Regions from separate parts of the Homo sapiens genome. Here all the other regions are linked to region 2. Evidence: promoter capture Hi-C in 16 types of primary human blood cells and fetal thymus (Javierre and others, 2016). All regions are on one chromosome and are shown on one strand. Each heading gives the region's core, a stretch centred on a gene start or on the middle of the fragment in contact. The rest is flanking DNA. Distances are from core to core; before and after follow the strand shown.

Region 1 (2,719 bases), core at 49-2,548, 720 kb before region 2:
ATGTATTAAAAGCCACTTAATTGTATACTTTAAATGACTGAATTGTATGGCATGTGAATTACATCTTATAAAGCTGTTGCAAAAAAGAAGGCATGGAAAAGGACTTTAAAAATCCAAATATGAATTAATTAGTGAAACCGACATTTGTAGTTGGCAGGATCCTTGATAACAAGGTAGCCTCTAGGATACTTGGTGTAGCGAGTTGAGTAATGAGACATGGCAAGTCCAACTTCGGATGTGGCAGGGAGATAAAGAGTAGGCAGGAGGGAAGAGATGGCAATGTAAACATCTTATCTGGAGAAGGAAGCACTCTGGAATCTTTGTGGCTAGGAATGTTGTACCCACACTTCATTAGACCAAACTTCTCTAAAGCAGGAACTGCCTTATTTCCTTCTGTATCTCCAGTGGTTTGTAGAGGGCCTAGATTTTAGTGGATACTCAAACCTTGTCTTTTGAGTGCATAATTAATAGAATAGATATTAAACCTGTAGGTGTCCAGCATGACTATGTGGACAAGTCATGCCCATGATGAGGTTTTTATCAGTCTGAGGATAAATGAGAAAAATAAGGTCAATAGGGCATTCGTATTAGCTGAAAGAAGTAGGCAGAAAATCAATACAAATATAAAAGACTTAAAAGACTTGGACAGTACTATCAACCAACTTGATCTAATTGATATTTACAGAACAGTCATCCCAACAACAGAATATACATTATTTTCAAGAACACAAAATATTTATAAAGATAAACCATATTCTGGATTATAAAGCAAGTTTCAATAAATTTAAAAATATTAAAATCAAACAAAATATGTTGACTCCAATGGAATTAAATTAAAAACAAATAACAGAAAAATGTTTGGAAAAATCACTGGAAACTTGGAAACCAAATAACACACTTCTAAACCTGAGAGCCAAAGAAGAAATCAAAAGGAAAGTTGGAACGTATTTTAAATTGAATTAAAATGAAAACACAGCATATCAAAATTTGAGGGATGCAGCTAATAAAATATTTATAGTGAAATTTATAGCAGTAAATGTCTATATTATAAGAAAAGAAAGGTTTTTAAATCAATGACTTCAGTTTCCAAATAAGTAACTACAAAAAGAAGAGCAAATTAAACTGAAATAAATCAGAAGACAGGAGATGACAAAGATCAGAATAGAAATAAATGAAACAGACAACAAAAATATAGAGAAAAATCACTAAAGCCAAAAGCTGATTCTTTGAGAAGATTAATAAAGTTGATGGATCTCTAGCCAGACTGATCAGAAAAAAGGGAGAAGATGCATATTTACAATATGATAAATTCGAGAAGTGACAACACTACAGATGCTGCAGACATTATAATTATAGTCTGAGAACATTGTAAACAATATTATAAATAAACTTATGCCAGTAAATTTGGCAAATTAGACGATGTGGACAAAGTCTTTGAAAGACAAACTATCAAAGCTGACTCATATATACCTAAATAGCATTCTATCCATTAAATAAATTGAATTTTCAGTTCAAAATTTTCCCACAGGCCATGGACAGTGGTTCATGCCTGTAATCCCAGCACTTTGGGAAGCCGAGGTGGGTGGATCACTTGAGGCCAGGAGTTAGAGACGAGCCTGGTCGACATGGTGAAACCCCATCTCTACTAAACATACAAAAATTAGCTGGTGGTGGTGGTGCATGCCTGTAATCCCAGCTACTCGGGAGGCTGAGGCAGAAGAATCTCTTGAACCTGGGAGGCGGAGGTTGCAGTGAGCCAAGATCATGCCACTTTACTCCATCCTGGGTGACAGAGCAAGACTCCATCTCAAAACAAAACAAAACAATCCCACAAAGAAAACCAACTAAAGGTGGCTTCACTGATGAGTGCTGCCAAAGATTTAAGGAAGAATTAATACCAATTCTACAAAAGTCTTACAGAACATCAAAAAAGAAGTCAATACTGCCAAACTCATTCTGAGGTCATCATTACCCAGACACCAAAACCAGACAAAGACATTACAAGAAAATAAAACTTTAGACCAATAGTCCTCATGAACATAGAAGCAAAATTTCTTAACCAAATTTTAGTAAATCAAACACACAAATACATGTACAAAAAGGAATATACATTATGACCAAGTAGGATTAATCCCAGGAACGAAAGGTTGGTTTGATGGTCAACTACAATAACATACTACAAAAGAAAAACCACATGATTTTCTGAATAGATACAGAAAAAGCACTGATGACATCCAACCTCCATTCCTGATAAAAGCTCTCGGCAATATAGGAATAAAAGGGAACTTTCTCAACTCTATAAAGGGCATCTATGAAAGTTAACATCATACTCAGTGGTAAAAGACTGAATGCTTTCCCCCTGATCAGATGCAGACAGTAATGTCTGTCCTCACTATATCTATACAAGATTATACTGGGAGTTCTAACCAGTTCAATTGGGCTGAATCAGGCCGAGTAAGATTGAAAATATGATCTAAATTCTAAACTGAAATAAACAAAAACAAGCAAACAAATAAAAAGGCCAAAATAATTTTTTTAAAGTTGCTTCTTTTCTTCTTTTAGGCATATTTATTAGTACAAATTAGGCTAATAAATTGTTCCTGATAAAGATTCTTAGGAGGCCTACATCAGTTAAAAATACAAGAATAATTTAAAATTTAATGGTTTCTGGATCTTTATGCCTCAATAACCCTGTTTATACTCTTAAAATCCTTACCAA
Region 2 (2,965 bases), core at 6-2,505:
ATTTTTTGTATTTTTGTAGAGACGGGGTTTCACCATGTTGGCCAGGCTGGTCTAGAGCTCCTGACCTCAGGTGATGCACTCATCTCGGCCTCCCAAAGTGCTGGGATTACAGGCGTGAGCCACCACGGCCGGCGAGATCTCTTTTATTTCTTTAATAGTACTCTTCATTTCTGCCCAAGCATATGGCACACTTCATTAACTGACTTGTTTAATGTCTGCCTTATTCTCTAGACTCTTTCTCTTTGAGAGCAGGAACCATTTTATGCCATTTCACTGCCATTTACCCAGTGGCTAGCTTACAGTAGATACTCAGTAAATAGTTGTTGATTGCGTAAAAGGCCAAGAGAAAAATGTTTCATTCACGGAGTAATGTCGCCATCTCGTGGAACTTTAGAATATTGTCATTTAAATCAAAAAAATGTTTTCACGGAAGGAATTGATGGTTCGAATGCTATTTTCCAGATTGTATTCGAGTGTTTTTTTTTTTTTTAATTGGACTGGACCTTTTGAGATTTTTAGTGCTCTAGAACTGCACAGCCTCTTCAGGTCAGGCTTAGGGCCTACTAGTTTTGCTTGGTGAAATGAATTATGCAACTAGGTAATGAATGGTCACCGTTTTACGTTCAGAACTCGTTCGCTTCTACCTTTACAAAAGGGACAACACAGATGCATTACTAAGCTCTTGGCTCATAACGATCCCTGGGGTATATTCAGAGCCCCTTCCTCGCGGCGTTCATATAGTGTCTCAGGGGTCTGTCAGCCAGCAATCCCCAATTCCTCATTACATATTCCTCACAATGCATGCTGGCTAAAATGGAAATTGTGTTCAGAAATAGCCCTGCCCTACCATCATATACTAGGAGAAAGGAGGAAATTATGCTCTATTAGAAACCCTAGGCTATCTTGCATAATGCTTCTCAATCTGAAATAATTTTTTACAGAATACCAATACGTTAAGAAGAGCTACTTCCCTGATCTACCTATTATGGGCAGCCCATTTTATGAAGTTAGCATGGCCTTCCTATTCAAACCAGAAATGGACAAAAGGAGAAGGAAGGCTTTTAGGTCAGTATGGTTATAACTGTAGATTCTGTATTCTTCCTCTTTAATCTATCTCTCATATTAACCAACCAGGAGGTTGGAGGCCGGAAGTCTTAGACGCCAGCGAGAGCCGCTCCTTCCCCACGAGTCTATGGCTTTCGGGTTACTTAAGCCACGGAGAACTCTATGGTTCCGGGGCGGGCCGGGAGGTTTGAGTTTGAAGACTGGCGGGAAGATGTCCGCAGCTGTTGCCAGGCCAGGGTTCTCCCGAGAGGGAGGACGCTGGGACTGTGGCTTGCCCTGATCGGCCGAGAAGAGTTTGCCATGAATCTTCTGCGTCGGAGTGGGAAACGGCGGCGTTCAGAATCAGGCTCAGATTCGTTCTCGGGAAGCGGCGGTGACAGCAGTGCCAGCCCCCAGTTCCTCTCCGGGTCCGTGCTGAGCCCGCCGCCCGGCCTTGGTCGCTGCCTGAAGGCCGCAGCTGCAGGTGCTCCAGGAACCCGGGAGGCCGCGGGCAACGGGGGCAGCTCCGCCGGGCCATGGGTCGGGAGGTGTCCTCACCCCACGGGACTTGCTTCGTTGCATACCCCATTGGGCTTCTACTCCCCTTCTCTGTGACTGGGGCCTGGTGTGGCAGGTCACTTTCTGTTCAGACATACGCGTGTTTTCAGTGATCGCCTGGTATTAATGTTCACGTGGCTTCTGGATCTTTCGACCTTTAGAGAAACAACTTCCTAGTTAGCTTCATCCCATCATCTGTTGGGCGGCTCGTTCCTGGTAGTACCCAGTACTCCTTACAGACCCTTAAGACAGGATTGTTGGGCCTGGAGTACGGCACAGGCTGTTCGGCGTCCAGGGGAAGGCTGGAAGGGATTCGTAATGAGATTGGTTGGGTGTCCCGTGGATGTCGACCCAGTTTTTTAAAATCGTTAGTTGTGCAGTCGTCATGGAACTAAAACTTACTATAAATAGAAACTCACCTAACTTAGCTTTGTAATGCTTGCATATTGCCCTCCTCCCCCAACTACACCCGTAATTCCAACACTCTTTATCTACTGTGTATTGCACGCTTTTTTGTTCGTTTGAGGCTTTTAAGGAATTTTTATTATATGCAGTAAATAACAATTTATTACTTTTCTATACATGGTCAATTTCTCATAAGATTCTTGAAGTCAGGATGTGCTTTAAAGAGCTTCATTTCAACACATAGGAATTCCAACACACGGTGAAGGGCTAACTGTAAAACTCATATATTAGAAGTAAATTAAATTTTAATTTTTTCTTTTTCCTAAAAGGAGAATGCAAGCCTACAGTTCCTGACTACGAAAGAGACAAGCTACTATTGGCAAACTGGGGACTTCCTAAAGCAGTTCTGGAAAAATACCACAGTTTTGGTGTAAAAAAGATGTTTGAATGGCAGGCAGAGTGCCTTTTGCTTGGACAAGTCCTGGAAGGAAAGAATTTAGTTTATTCAGGTATCCAAATTTATGTAAACTAATTACTATTTTTAAGATATGAATGTAAAGAATACTCTATTGAGGTAGTTGTGGTTCGTTTAAAAGGTGAATGAGGCAGTGCTTTATAACTAGAGAAAATCGTACAATATGTGTGAAAAGTGGAGTTTTATTTATATTTAAATTACAAAAGTTTTATTGTTTGACTGGGGTGGAGGGAAGCAAGAAAAATGACAATTTAAAGAGTGGGCAATTCTGCCTGCCATTATTCTCAACAAACATATATCCCAGTGAGTGTGCAATGGGAGATGTAAATCTGCCCTTCCCCTGTTTGATCCTGGTTGCTTTTCAGGGTATGAGCATTATCATTACATGTTTGTTAATTTACCTTTTTTTTTTCTTGAGATAGAGTTTGTCTCCAGGCTGGAGTGCAGTGGCGCTATGTGGGCTTACTGCAACTTCCACCTCCC
Region 3 (2,760 bases), core at 93-2,592, 800 kb before region 2:
CTCTTGAAAAGGAAGAGCAAAGTTGGAAGGACTCACACTTCACAATTGTAAAACTTATTACAAGGCAACAGTAATCAAAAAAGTGTAGTACTGACAAAAGGATAGATATATAGATTAATGGAATAAAATTGAGAGTTGAGAAATTAACTCGTGCCTGTGATCAACTGATTTTCAACAAGGGTGCCAAGATAATTCGATGGGGTAAAGAAATCTTTTCAACCAATGGTGCTAAGATAACTAGATAGCCACATGCAAAAGAATGAAGTTGGACACTTACCTCACACCATATACAAAAATTAACTCAAAAGGGACAAACGACCTAAATGTAAGAGCTAAAGCTACATATCACTTAGAAGAAAACAGGGGAGTAAATCACTATGAGTTTGGATTTGGCAAAGGATCCTTAGTTATGATACCAAGAGCATGAGGAGCAAAAAGATAAATAGATAATTTGGACTTCATTAAAATTAAAAACTTTTGTGCTTCAGAGAATGCCATCAAGAGATTGAAAAGATAACCACAAAATGAGAAGAAAGTATTTGCAAATCATATATCAGATAAGGGGCCTGTATTCAGAATATATGCTGTGGTTTGAATATTTGACTCCTTCAAAACTGATGTTGAAACTTAATCCCCAATGTGGTACTATTGAGAGGTGGGGCCCTTAAAAGATGATGGAATAATAAGGGCTCTGCCCTCATGAATGGCTTAATCCATTCATGGATTAATGGATTAATGGGTTATCATGGGAGTGGGGCGGGTGGCTTTGTAAGAAGAGGAAGAGAGACCTGATCTATCATGCTCAGCCCCCTCGCCATGTGATGATGCTTGTGCTGCCTCAGGACAGGACTCTGCAGAGAGTCGCCACCTGCAAGAAGGCTCTCACCAGATGTGGTCCCTCAACTTTGCACTTCTTTTTTTTTGAGACAGGGTTTCACACTTGTTGCCCAGGCTGGAGTGCAATGGCACGATCTTAGCTCACTGCAACCTCTGCCTCCTGGGTTCAAGTGATTCTCCTGCCTCAGCCTCCCAAATAGCTGGGATTACAGGCATGCACCACCACTCCTGGCTAATTTTTTGTATTTAGTAGAGATGGAATTTCACCATGTTAGTCAAACTGGTCTCAAACTCCTGACCTCAGGTGATCCACCCACCTCGGCCTCCCAAAGTGCTGGGATTACAGGCATGTGCCACTGTGCCTGGCCCTCAGCTTTGGACTTCTCAGCCTCCATAACTGTAATAAATAAACTCATTTTCTTTATAAATTACCCAGTTTCAGATATTCTGTTATAAGCAACAGAAAATGGACTAAGACAGGTAATTATGTTTTTTGTTATTATTTTTAAATGGCAAAAACTACACTAACTTTTGCATCAGCCTAATACAAATGGCTAATCATCTCATGAAAAGATGTTCAATAGCATTAGTCATCAGGGAAATACAAATCAAAACCACAATGAGCTATTATTTCACATCCACTAAGATGGCTAACCTTAAAAAAATTCAGATAATAACAAGTGTGGGTGAGGATATGGAGAAAATGGAACTCTCATCCACTGTTGGTGAGAATGTAAAATGGTGTGACCACTTCAGAAAACCGTCTGTAAGTTTCTCAAACAATTAAACATAGAGTTAGTTACCGTATGAACCAGCAATTCTACTCCTAGGTATATACCCAAGAGAAATGAAAACCTATGTACACACAAAACCTTGTACACAAATATTTATAGTAGCAGTGTTCCTGATAGTCAAAAGGTGAAAGCAACTTAAATATCTGTCAACTGATTAGTTAATAAACAACGTGTGATATATTGATAAAATGGAATATTTGTCCATAAAAAGGAATAAAATACTGAGACGTGCTACAACACTGATGAATTTTGAAAACTATGTTAAGTGAAGGAAGGCAGTTACAAAGGACCACCACATATTATATAATTCCACATGTATGAATGTCCAGACCAGGCAAATCTAGACAGTAAATTAGTTGTTGCTTAGGAGTTGAGTTGTTGCTTATGTGTGGAGGAGGCTGGGGAAGTGACAGCTAACAGGTATGAGACTTCTTTTTGAGGTGACGAAAATGTTCTAAAATTTTGTGAGGTCTGCACGCATTTGTGAATGTGGTATAAAACTATTCACTTGTACACTTTAAATGGGTAAGTTGTATGTTTCAATTTATGTCTCAATGAAGGTATTAAATAAGAGGAAAATGGCAATTAAATGGAGCAAGTTATTTTGGATTGGATCTTTTTTTTGGGATGGGGTCTTGCTATGTTGCCCAGGCTGGCATGCAGTGGCTACTCATGGGCACGATCATTGCACACCATAGCCTTGAACTCCTGGCCTCTAGAGGTCCTCCTGCCTCTGCCACCTGAGTAGCTAGGACTACAGGTGCTTGCCACCTCACCTGGCTTGGATCTTTTTGTAATAAATGACATTATTGGGACAATTGGGGTAATTTGAATGGTGTCTGGGGATTAGATGCTACCAGTGTATCAGTGTTAATTTCTTAATTGTTTAATTTTATTTTTAATTTTTTTTTTTTAGAGACACGGTCTCTCTTTGTCACCCAGGCTGGAGTGCAGTGGCATGAGTATAGCTCACTGTAGCCTCGAATTCCTGGGCTTAAGCCATCCCCCCACGTCAGCCTCCCAAGTAGCTAGGACTACAGGTGCATACCACCATGCCCAGCTAATTTCTAATTTCTTTTTGTAGAGACATGGTCTCGCTATGTTGCCCAGGTTTGTCTTAAATTCCTGT
Region 4 (2,836 bases), core at 155-2,654, 750 kb before region 2:
TCACTATTAAATCATTATGCATTTTCTCCAGGCTACTAAATAGACACTTGTTGTACTGGACCCGTATTAACTGCAGTAGGGATGGCACCAGGTTCAAGAGGCTGAAGAAGAGACCTGGAGCCAGCAAAGCAGGCACAGGGTTTCCTGAAGGGGACTTAAATACAGGGCAGTTCAGTGGTGGTGGACTGGATGGGAGAACCTCAACCTCTTGTAAAAAGCATGCAGTTCGCATAGCATGTTCACTTAGCACTCTCCCCCCAGCAACCTCCATCTGGAAACCGTCATTTCTTGTTAACTTATTACTATCAGGTCGGGTTACCATACAACACCAACACACACAAAGACACACATACAAACATATGTGTGTTATTTAAAAAGACAAATAGTACTAATTGGCTTATAATAAAACACACTTGTTGCCACACTCCCCTGTAGCACCCTCCCCTGCAGTGCAAGTTCCCGCTGTCTTTCCATCTCCTCTGCCAGCAGGTTCTCCCTCATAGTAAAATGCCAGGTGTAGTTCAGCCTCCAGCACAGCATCTTGTGGATCTACCACAGCTGTGGAGATAAAAATAAATCATATTTTGCTTATATTTTTCTTAAGAGAGTGTGTTTTTCATGTTGTGTTTGATCTTAAAAATCTTTGTTTTGGGGTGGTAGACACTGCGGACGGGCTTGTTCAGTAGCCACTCTGACCCTCTTCTAGCAGGTCTTCCTCCACTATAGAGGCTGGGAAACAAATGCTACATTTCCAGACTCCTTGACAGCCAGGGCTCTGCATGTGGCTGATATGAGACTTGGAAAGTTGGTGTGAGTGGGGCCAAGCACAGGCAGAGGGATTTGGTTCCTCCAGCTTCAGTGAAGGTTCCAGTGTCCTGTTCTCTGTGTCTTGGTGCTAAGTGGAAGGCAGGGGAGGTTATGAAGCTTTTGCCAGAACACCCTCATAGGGGGATTAGGTATTTCTCCTGGGTGAATTGATCCTGATTGTATAGCAACTAAATTTGGATCACTGAGCCTCCCAAAATGTTATAAGCTTCCTAATACCATATAACAAGTACCTTTCTGCTTGAACTAGTTAGAGTGAATTCTATTGCCTCCAACTAAGAAACCTGACAGAAGAAATCATTGCATTCCATGGTACTTCCTGAGATTTCAAAAGCAAATTCTCTAAGCTTCAGTCACCCATGGTTTTAATAATTATTTATATTTTGCCTATATTCCTGAAGTTCCTTTCAAATCACTTGTTTTATTTGGCAAACAACCATAGTTGGTAATTATGGCAGGTAATAGTCTATCTACTTTTCTTTTTTTGAGACAAAGTCTGGCTCTGTTGCCCAGGCTGGAGTGCAGTGGCTACATCTTGCTTCATTGCAACCTCTGCCTCCTGGACCCAAGGGAGCCTTCCACCTCAGCCTCCCAAGTAGCTGGGATTACAGGTGCATGCCATCATGCCCAGCTAATTTTTTGTATTTTTTGTACAGATGAAGTTTCACCATGTTGCCCAGGCTTGTCTCACACTCCTGACCTCAAATGATCCTCCTGCCTTGGCCTCCTAAAGTGCTGGGATTACAGGCATGAGCTACCATGCCTGGCCTATGTACTTTTCATAGTGGAAAGTGAGACAAAGAAAGCTTAAGTGCCTCATCCAAAGACGTGTAACTTATCTGTCATACTGCCTAGAATCCCCCTCTTTTCCACTATTCTATGTCCTCGGCCCGTTCAGAAATTTAAAAGTCCCATGAAACTCTTGGGAGCTAATTAGAGCTCTGGAAAAATTTGTAGGAGGGGTGACTGACCCAATATGGTGATTCCTATCTAATATGATATGCTTATCTGTTTAAAATTTGGTTGCATGTTTATTTTAAATTCTTTTCTTTATTTTCCTGTTATAATTTTGTGCTTAATATACAAAACTTGGGAAAAATTTAGAAAATCCTAAAGAAGCAGAAACAATTATCCATTAGTCCACTACCAAGCAATCTTCATTTATAATGCTCATCATCACTGGCCATCAGAGAAATGCAAATCAAAACCACAATGAGATACCATCTCACACCAGTTAGAATGGCGATCATTAAAAAGTCAGGAAACAACAGGTGCTGGAGAGGATGTGGAGAAATAGGAACACTTTTACACTGTTGGTGGGACTGTAAACTAGTTCAACCATTGTGGAAGTCAGTGTGGCGATTCCTCAGGGATCTAGAACTAGAAATACCATTTGACCCAGCCATCCCATTACTGGGTATATACCCAAAGGATTAGAAATCATGCTGCTATAAAGACACATGCACACATATGTTTATTGTGGCACTATTCACAATAGCAAAGACTTGGAACCAACCCAAATGTCCAACAACGATAGACTGGATTAAGAAAATGTGGCACATATACACCATGGAATACTATGCAGCCATAAAAAATGAGGAGTTCGTGTCCTTTGTAGGGACATGGATGAAGCTGGAAACCATCATTCTCAGCAAACTAATACAAGGACAAAAAACCAAACACCACGTATTCTCACTCATAGGTGGGAATCGAACAATGAGATCACATGGACACAGGAAGGGGAACATCACACACCAGGGCCTATTGTGGGGTGGGGGGAGGGGGGAGGGATAGCATTAGGAGATATACCTAATGGTAAATGACGAGTTAATGGGTACAGCACACCAACATGGCACATGTATACATATGTAACAAACCTGCACGTTGTGCACATGTACCCTAAAACTTAAAGTATAATAAAAAAAAAAGAATAAAGAAAAATTTGGAGGAGGGGTGACTGACCCAGTATGGTGATTCCTATCTAATATGATATACTTATCTGTTTAAAATT
Region 5 (2,876 bases), core at 312-2,811, 710 kb before region 2:
AACATGAACAGAAATCCAGTTTTATTGGAACAATCCTAGTTTTCATTTTCATTTTCCAGCTATTGGGAAGAGCAAGGAAAAGTGCTGGATCCCTTCTGGAAGTTGCAAGTCTCTCTAGAAGATGGGTCAAGATTTGGAGCACAGTCAGTCTCCAGTGTAGATTAGGGGAGGTGATAAACAGTCCCAACCATATTCTGCAGAAGTCAGATCCCATTTAAAGAGATGTGCCTCACCCTGGAGACTATATTCTAAAAGGGTCGCAGTAAATTAGGGGGCATCAGATGGAGGACAACCAGGATGATGACGGGTCTGGAAAGCATATCATGGAGAAAATGATGATAAAACAGACTATGTGGCTTGGAGAAGAAAATATTTGATGAGACATATTAGCTCTCTTCAAGTGGCCACAGAGAGAATCTATTGAGAGAGTGAGATGCATTCTTGGCAGGGTGGATGGGGGGTGGGGAGGGTGGCAAGGGGGGATAACCTTCCTATGCAAAAGACTTTTTGATGGCAGTAGTTCCAAAATGCTATGGACTACATTTTACAGTTTGAAGATGCCTGGGTCATGCTGACTACTGTGGTTTCTTTCAACTTAAATGCCTTAAAAAAAAGAAAGAAAAAAAAGAAAAAGAGTGAGGCAGCCAGCACTCAGGTATTACTATCCATTGGAGCATGTAAGGTCAATGGGGGATTTTACTACTCAGGTTTGCAAGACCTGCAATAAATTTCCTTCTAGGTACTTAGTCTTCCATTAAGCAACACTGCTGCCAGGTGAACGATGATAACTTGGTCACCAAATGACCACCAGGTGCTTTAACAGGCCATGCATGGATTTTCTACTTAATATCATTGACATTTTATTTAAAAAGAAGTCTTCAGGAAAAAAAAGGCAGGTTGTGGGGGCAATAAGCTTCAGCATGATTACCAATCAATCACTATTCTTGAAAAGATAGGACAAAGTTTGAAAAAATTATTTTGCGTTTGGTGCAGCTTTTCTCCAACCACTCAGAAGAGAAGAGATTGGCAGATTAGGCCCCTCTTCTTACCTGATACATTCCACAGACTCCGGCCTTGATTTGAGATCTTGATCTTTAGCTGCTACTCCAAAATGAATAGGAAAGAGCCCCCCAAGGATAATGTCCCCCTTCTTTTGGGCTCGCTGGTCTGGCCCGTAGGCAGAGGTGTGCCAGGTGAGTGCCAAGAGGACCCAGCAGCAGCTATAAAATGCCATGGTTCTGCCGTCTCTCCAGGGCAAGGGATGAGACAGCTAGGAGTTTGGAGGCTCCCAGAAGTTTCTCCCTTGGAGCAGTTCACTCCCTGCAGTGGGGACACATGTCTACAGATTGATTAATAAAATAATAGAAGACGTGGTGTTTGAATCTCCATTTCTGCCTTCCTCAATCCAGACTTGTAATGTGGGTGGTCCTTGAGTCTTTGGAAGCCACATCATGCAGAGGCCTCCTGTGATGCCTTCTAAAAGAAAAGAAAGACAAAATGGATTCAGCTAAACCTCAATCCCATCTTGTGATGACCACTGCAACTAAGGTGGCTCAGAATTTCCATTTAGAGGGGCCTAGGGGTGGCAGACTGAAAAGGCCTGGCTTGGAGTCACATTTTTATAGCACTTCATGTAAAATACAGGAAACGTCAATTGCCCATATTGGGGAAGAACTATGTTAGGTTATGAGAGGTCAAATTTTAAAGAGGCCCTTGATAACCTAAGACCTCTGCTGGTGCTGATGCTGGATTTTAATCCATTCATTTTCCTGTGTGAATGAGGCATAAATTTGGCCTATTAGTAGCAGAAGCTCCTTTTGTTATAATAATATTAGAGATATTTTATTCAGCATGTAAGTTCTTATAGAAAATATAGAATGAAGCTGGGTGCAATGGCTCACGCCTGTAATCCTAGCACTATGGGGAGCTGAGGCAGGTGGATAACCTGAGGTCAGGAGTTCAAGATCAGCTTGACCAACATGGTGAAACCCTGTCTGTACTAAAAAAATACAAAATTAGCTGGATGTGGTGGCATACGCCTGTAATCCCAGCTACTTGGGAGGCTGCGGCAGGAGAATTGCTTGAATCTGGGAGGTGGAGGTTGCAGTGAGCCGAGATCGTGCCATTGCACTCCAGACTGGGCAACAAGAGTGAAACTCTGTCTCAGAAAAAAAGAAAGAAAATAGAGAATGAGTCATATTTAAGCTTAAATCTGACTTTGAACCAAACAAAAATGTTGGAAAAGACCACTTATTCTTTATTTTTTATGATAGTCTCCTTTTTTTGTGCAGGTCTCTGGTTTCAGTTTGTAATATGACACCCTGTAAGCCTTTTAAGAACAGTTCTTATACGAAATTCAGAGAAATCATGGATTAGATTGTGTTTTACAAAGATCAACAGCTGGATATAGGAGAAAGCCCTCCTGCTATACTATGATTAGTAGAGTAGGAACTCTGCTCTTCTCACTCCGCACCCTATCTCACTCACCCTGTGAGTCAATTACCAATTACAGGTTGATGGGGCTAAATATCCAGCCTGTCTTGAGGCTCAGGGCCAAGCACTGGACTGCCAACTGGACACTGCCACATGAATGTTCCACAGATTCTTTGAATTTAACAGGCCCTAAACTTACCTCCCTACTGGACTTGTTTCTCCCTCACTGTTTTCTATCTTAGAAGATTACATGCCATCCACAGAGACACAAAATAAGGAGCCATCTTTTCCTCCTTTCTGTTCTCATCATTGTCCTTCATATTTACACAATCCCTAAGCCCTGTAGATTCTACTTCTTAATTCTCTCTGGAATCCATTTACTCCTCGCCATTTCCAAGATTATTTTTAGTCCACCATCATTTATTTCTTTTTCTTTTTCTTTG
Region 6 (2,779 bases), core at 87-2,586, 770 kb before region 2:
AGTTCCAAGCTTAATGAATTTATGGATTGCTGAAGCCAAAACCATCAGGCTCTCAGATTTCCATCCTTTCCCCAATCCCCATAGATGTATCTGTCCTCTTCTACTTTTCCTATGTCATCTATTTAAATGGACTCTTACTGAGTCTAAAGGATATGAAAAAAAAAATAGAATGAACTCTTAGAAAAGACTGCAAATCTTTTGCAAAACGGTACACATAAAAAAATCTTATGGGTATCTACATTTTGACGGAGTAAGTGCTTTAAGATGAAGAAATAGAATGGTGAAATTTTATGGATGAGGTGAACAAATACATTTTGGGAAGTAAGGTGGTTTATAGCATCTATGCATCACATCAATTAGATGATCACCTCTCAGTTTACCTGTAAAACTGGTGTTTCTTTGATTTAAAAACTTGTTCTGATTTGTTAAACCACAAGAGTCTATTCTACTCCCATACTTCTCTAGGAACCTGCCTGTATCCATTTCAACAGCCTGAAGTTGGCAAGGGTGGCAGTTCAGAAGTTGCTGCACAAGGCAGGAGGAAGTTTTATAATATGGGAAAAATAATGTTGGAGTAAATAATTCTAGAGAAGTGTTGAGAACTTAACAAAAATGTATCTAAACATAACTATTTATATTTACTTACATTTTCTCTAGATTATAAACTCTTTTTAAATATACAGTTCATCTAGGAGCAGGGGCTCATACCTATAATCCCAGCACTTTAGGGGGCCAGAGTGGCAGGGTTGCTTGAGGGCAGGAGTTTGTGACCAGCCTGGGCAACTTGGTGAGACCCTGTCTCTACAAAAAACAAACAAAAAAAGTAAGCCGGTCATGGTGGTGCATACCTGTAAGTCCCAGCTCTGCAGGAGGCTGAGGCGGGAGGATCGTTTGAGCCCAAGAGTTCAAGGTTACAGTGAGCTATGATCACACCACTGCACTGCAGCCTGGGCAACAGAGTGAGACCCTGTCTCAAATACGTATACACAGTCTGCATTAAATTTTCTTTAATGATTATCTTTAATTGAGCCGATAGTTATTTCTCAAAAAGTATAATGTACATATGAATTTACATCTCTTAGCTAACCACATACTAATTATTGGGGTCATGGTATTCTAGTCACTTGGAGTTTCTTGGCCATCCTTGACTTCTCTGGCTATAGAAAATTCCTAAAAGTACAGGAAAAACTTTTTTATTGTAAAAAGTGACAAAAATTGTAGCCAAGACAAGGCAAATTTAAAAAACTCATTCTGGCCACAGAGTGCTCTGGCTTTCCACTGGGGCTGGTTGTCAGTAACAGCCAGGGAGTGAGGCCATAAGGAGATCCCCAAAAGGTGAGTTCTGAGCCTCCGTGAGTTAGAGGTTAGTACTTTGCAGTGAATTAGGGATGGAGATGCTTTAGGCGAAAGGAAGGCTGGGATTGGAATGTGAGGGGATTATTTAACCCATATGTGCTTCTACGGTCCTGGACTTGGCTAACTTCAATGAGGCTTATGCAGATGCACTGAGAATGAAGATGGAAGATGGGATGAACATAACTAAAGCCAACAAGGCTGGGGGTGTGCCTGCCCTAGGGCTCCCCTCTGGGTGCCAGGACATAGAGGGTGAGCGGTGGGAGTGAAACGGGAAGAGTTCCCTTGTCCCCCTCACAGGGCGTGTGACAGGGGGAGTGGCTCACTTCTTCAGTGCCCAGCTGCTCAAACCTCTAGGGGGAGCATGCAGAAGGGTAGGTTGTGGGGCTCCGACCCCACAGCAGCATCTAGGGGTGAATGCTTACAGCTCCTGAAGCCCCAGTGGGTGTGTGTTACAGAGTGCTCTTTTAGCTTTGCTGTCTGTAGGTGGCTTGTGTCAATCAGCTCTATTAGACCCTCTGCCTTATAAGGACAGAGGGCGTTCTGTATCCCGGGGTTTTTGCCTTGGTGTACCAGAAGAACCAGATCACATGTGGGCTTGGAGAATGAGTGTAAGGATTTTTATTGAGTGGTAGCTCTCAGCGAGGTAGATGGGAAGGCCAGAAGGGGGCTGGAGTGGGAAGGTGGTTTTCCCCTGCAATCGGGCTTCCGGGCAGCTGGGCTCTTCTCCGACCACCCCAGCCAAACTCTGCATTGTTCCACCAGTCGATGGCCTGCCGAAATCTGTCAGTGCCTGTGGGTGTGCTCTTACGCGGGTGTGTTCCTCTCAATTTCCAGCCGCTTGTGTCCTCAACCATTGGTGTGTTCCTCTTGATGTCCAGCTGCTTGTGTGTGTGCCCGCTAGGATCTTGGAGTTTTTATAGGCACAAGATAGGGGTATGGCAGCCCAGGGTGGTCGTGGGAAATGCAATATTTGGGCATGAGAACAGAAATGCCCATCCTCACCAAGGTCTGTGGGCACAGGTCTGGGGCTGGATCCCCAGCGAGGGACTACGCCTTTCCCTTCCCAGCACTTTCCCGCCCCACTTGCCCCACTCTGTATCAGGAGCATAGTTTGCAGGGCTGTAGGAACAAAGAGCTACCCAGCATCTTTTCAGAGTAAAATTTTCAGCCACCCGCAACTTTTCTCACTTCAAAGTGAGTGTAGCAGCAATCATTTCCCTCTCTCTTCTCTTCAGGACAAAGAAACCAGTGGTCTCAACAATCCCAGTGGCTTTTGGGTGCTCTCAGAACAATGTAGAGAAGCTTGTATGGGCTCAGGGGTCATTCAAACCTCTGCTCAGTAGCCTGGATTGTGAGTTGAGTTGCGTTTTTGCCCTTTAGGGGAGAAAGAAGTTGTTGTAGAGGCCTACCCACACTGAATACT
Region 7 (3,112 bases), core at 228-2,727, 820 kb before region 2:
TCACATCTGTACAGTATCTGCCTTTTGAGACATAACCTGAGAAAAACATCTCTAATATATTTTGGAAATAGCTCCAGTTTCATTGTGTAGAAATCTGCTGAAATGTAATATAGACTATTTAACTTCAGGATATTACCCTCGTTAGCCATAAAAATATAGTATGATTTAAATATAACCAGATTTACTTGTACCTCATTATAATTTATTTCCCTACTGTGTAAAAGTTGCTAGGGATCTTTGGCTTTTTCTTGGACATGACTTTTTCCCATTTCCTCCCCTATCCCTGCAGTGTTTTTACTTTTAAGAAAATAGCAAGTACCTACCTAGGGATGTGTCAGAGGAAGCCTTATTTTCCCAAATCAACTATAATGTAGATAGGGTGTAGACTTCAGAATACAGTTAATGCAGCAGAACTGTTTCTTTACAGCACTTGTATGTGACGTGTCAAGGAAACAATAGAAAAATACAGCATATTTTATTATGTGGGATTTATTGCTGTCTTTCTTTTGAGGGGACTCTTAGGGGGTAACTTTTTATCTTGTATAATTTCAAACTTACCAAAAAGTTGTAAGAATAGTGTAAGGAACTCCCATGTGCCCTTTACCTATATTCACTTATTGTTTATATGTTGCCCCACCTGCTTTACAGTTCATTCTCTTCACCCTCCCTCTCTCCTTCTCTTCACCCTCCCTCTCTCCTTCTCTTCATCCTTCCCTGCCTTCCTCCCTCTCCCTGTCTCCCCACACACCTGTATGCATAAATACAGTTTTTTCATGAACCATTTTGAGACTATGTTATACACATTGTACCACTTTACCCTTAAACTCATTAGTTATTTCTAAGAACAGGGACTTTTCCTACAGGACCAGTGTACAATTATCAAAATCATGGTTTTTTTTTTGTTTTTTGAGATGGGGTCTCACTCTGTCACCTAGGCTGGAGTGCAGTGTTGCAATCTCAGCTTACTGCAACCTCTGGTTCTGGGGCTCAAGCAATCCTGCCTCAGCCTCCCCAGTAGCTGGGACTACGGGCGCGAACCACCACACCCAGCTTATTTTTTGTATTTTGGGTAGAGATGGAGTCTCACCATGTTACACGGGTTTATCTCAAACTCCTGAGCTCAAAGTGATCCACCTTCCTCAGCCTCCCAAAGTGCTAGGATTATAGGTGTGAGCCATCACACCTGACTTCATGTTTGTATTTTAAGATGGCATAATAGGTGACTTACGGATCCTTGTGGGATTGAGTCATGCTTTTCATACTGCACAGTCATGAAGTTTGCCCTTTGTTTAGTAGATGTAGCTGAACTTTGAAAAGGGGACCTCGTCATCTATTGAAAACTATTAGTAGAAAAGAAAAGAAACCTCTTTCCTTGTAGCTGGCTGCACACAAGGTGAGTAGGCCAGGCTGCTGCACTTTTTCGATCATTCCGCCAATTCTGGATGTCTCACTGGATCCAGGACTCAGCCACTGTCTTTGCTGCTCTCTTTGTTCATGACTACTGCGTCAGGTCTGTATTCCATACCTGCTCATGCCACAGGCACTGGTGGATCCCTTGGACAGTGACCTTATGCAGTGATGTTGATCTTACTCCCCTTGCTGTTCATGAAGGCATATAGATTATTTATTTATTTATTTATTTATTTATTTATTTATTTATTTATTTTTGAGATGGAGTCTCGCACTATCGCCTGGGCTGGAGTGCAGTGGTGCAATCTTGGCTCACTGAAACTTCCGCCTCCCAGGTTCAAGAGATTCTCCTGCCTCAGCCTCCCTAGTAGCTGGGGTTACAGGTGCCTGCCACCACGTCCAGCTAATTTTTTTTTGTATTTTTAGTAGAGACAGGGTTTCACCATGTTGGCCAGACTGGTCTCGAACTCCTGACCTTGTGATCTGCCCGTCTCAGCTTCCCAAAGTGCTGGGATTACAGGCATGAGCCACCGTGTCCAGCCGGCATATAGATAATTTATATAAAACTGGTGAAAGTCTAGTAATTTTGGAGTTTGTATTTCAACGCCCTTGAAGGTGTTGACAAAGGAAACTGCAGGGCAAAGGCTGTTAAATTGGAAACTGAAAAGTCACTGTTTGCAGATCAAGTCAAACAACAGAGTGACTCATTAGTGGAGAGCAAAGTTCAAAACTCTACTGAGTGTTTGGGAATGATTGTGACACACAATTTGCTCAGCCTTGAGATCTGCCCTTGTGTCTTTAGGGCCCAGATAGAATCACCAGGATGACCACTGCAAGGAGGGTTTAGAAACCAATCAGTGAGTTGCATGAGGTTTGCTTTCTAGCTTGATAACATATAGGGTTGGGGGTAACCATGGGGTAGTACATAAGCAAATAAGGAAATGTGAATTTTTTTTTTCAATTTTCAAGTTTGCTATGAAGATTATGGAATCAGAGAGAGCTCTTGGAGATGGTACAGCTCTACCTCTTCATTTTCTATCTGAGGAAAAAGACTCAGAGATACTTGAGATACTAACTGACACCCCCAAAGCCACAAGCTAGTAAGTGGTAGAACTGGGACTTTAACCCATCTCTTCTGACCCTGCATTCAGTCAGTTTCTTTAAGTTGTGACTAATAGTCAGATACTTTAGTGAGTATATTTCATTTATAGACAGATGCCAGTCAAAAAATCCCCACTAGTTTACCTGAATATTTAACTCAAAAAAAGCACCTTCGTTGCTGGACCTCTATAACTGCTGTCACATGTTAGTGGCCTTAAGTTTACCTGTTGAAGACCTACAGTCTCAAAGACAACTGTCTCAAAGGTGACAGTTTGTTGGTAGCACTGATAAAATTGTATTAGAAATTGGCTGTAATATCTGCAATGTTGTAGAATTTTAAAAAATAATCCAAAGGCAGACAGCTCTGAGGAAATAAATCCCACCTACCTTGGTGGCTTTGTAACCTTGTGTATTAATTGTTCTGAAAAGTCTGATTTTGAATCTGTAAAATGGAGTTGATACCTAATAACTTCTTATTTCTGGGGGGCATGTGCGGGGAGGATTCAAGGATGTAAGTAAGAGCTAGCATATTGGCTGCTACAAAGTAGCAGTTTCTTTCCTTTATGAGTCTCTGGGACTCCATATTTGTTGCATTAATCTT

Evidence for each region. The method cuts DNA at HindIII sites, captures the fragments that hold promoters and counts their contacts. A CHiCAGO score of 5 or more calls a contact.
Region 1: a fragment that was not itself captured here is called in contact with the fragment with the promoter of POLQ in region 2 in 1 of 17 cell types (neutrophils); the score reaches 6.5 in neutrophils.
Region 3: a contact is called between a fragment that was not itself captured here and the fragment with the promoter of POLQ in region 2, in 1 of 17 cell types (neutrophils). The highest score is 5.1, in neutrophils.
Region 4: a contact is called between a fragment that was not itself captured here and the fragment with the promoter of POLQ in region 2, in 8 of 17 cell types (naive CD4 T cells, naive CD8 T cells, total CD4 T cells and 5 more). The highest score is 11.5, in naive CD4 T cells.
Region 5: a fragment that was not itself captured here is called in contact with the fragment with the promoter of POLQ in region 2 in 4 of 17 cell types (naive B cells, total B cells, neutrophils and 1 more); the score reaches 6.4 in naive B cells.
Region 6: a contact is called between a fragment that was not itself captured here and the fragment with the promoter of POLQ in region 2, in 4 of 17 cell types (naive CD8 T cells, neutrophils, total CD8 T cells and 1 more). The highest score is 6.2, in naive CD8 T cells.
Region 7: a contact is called between a fragment that was not itself captured here and the fragment with the promoter of POLQ in region 2, in 8 of 17 cell types (erythroblasts, naive CD8 T cells, total CD4 T cells and 5 more). The highest score is 7.8, in erythroblasts.

What each region holds. Positions count from the first base shown.
Region 1 is chr3:122,268,950-122,271,668 of GRCh38, reverse strand. All of the region lies in intron 4 of CASR (calcium sensing receptor), which reads right to left. Among named protein-coding and RNA genes, the nearest start is that of CSTA, 55 kb to the left of the region's middle. The HindIII fragment of the contact is 9,372 bases long and covers 1-2,719 here.
Region 2 is chr3:121,544,278-121,547,242 of GRCh38, reverse strand. It overlaps POLQ (DNA polymerase theta), which reads left to right and starts at 1,255. Exons shown (of 30, transcript NM_199420.4): 1 at 1,255-1,528; 2 at 2,337-2,516. The coding sequence starts at 1,366. RefSeq lists enhancers at 1,107-1,401, 1,293-1,522. The HindIII fragment of the contact is 11,524 bases long and covers 1-2,965 here.
Region 3 is chr3:122,342,572-122,345,331 of GRCh38, reverse strand. No RefSeq gene overlaps it. Among named protein-coding and RNA genes, the nearest start is that of CSTA, 19 kb to the right of the region's middle. The HindIII fragment of the contact is 9,676 bases long and covers 1-2,760 here.
Region 4 is chr3:122,290,649-122,293,484 of GRCh38, reverse strand. It overlaps CASR (calcium sensing receptor), which reads right to left. Exons shown (of 7, transcript NM_000388.4): 7 at 1,856-2,836. Among named protein-coding and RNA genes, the nearest start is that of CSTA, 33 kb to the left of the region's middle. The HindIII fragment of the contact is 459 bases long and covers 1,175-1,633 here.
Region 5 is chr3:122,252,548-122,255,423 of GRCh38, reverse strand. It overlaps CASR (calcium sensing receptor), which reads right to left. Exons shown (of 7, transcript NM_000388.4): 2 at 1,050-1,476. The coding sequence starts at 1,234. Among named protein-coding and RNA genes, the nearest start is that of CASR, 70 kb to the right of the region's middle. The HindIII fragment of the contact is 1,292 bases long and covers 916-2,207 here.
Region 6 is chr3:122,314,724-122,317,502 of GRCh38, reverse strand. No RefSeq gene overlaps it. Among named protein-coding and RNA genes, the nearest start is that of CSTA, 9.1 kb to the left of the region's middle. The HindIII fragment of the contact is 2,649 bases long and covers 12-2,660 here.
Region 7 is chr3:122,364,734-122,367,845 of GRCh38, reverse strand. The region is part of intron 3 of MIX23 (mitochondrial matrix import factor 23); the gene reads left to right. Among named protein-coding and RNA genes, the nearest start is that of MIX23, 17 kb to the left of the region's middle. RefSeq lists a cis regulatory region at 2,124-2,137 and an enhancer at 2,058-2,202. The HindIII fragment of the contact is 6,376 bases long and covers 1-3,112 here.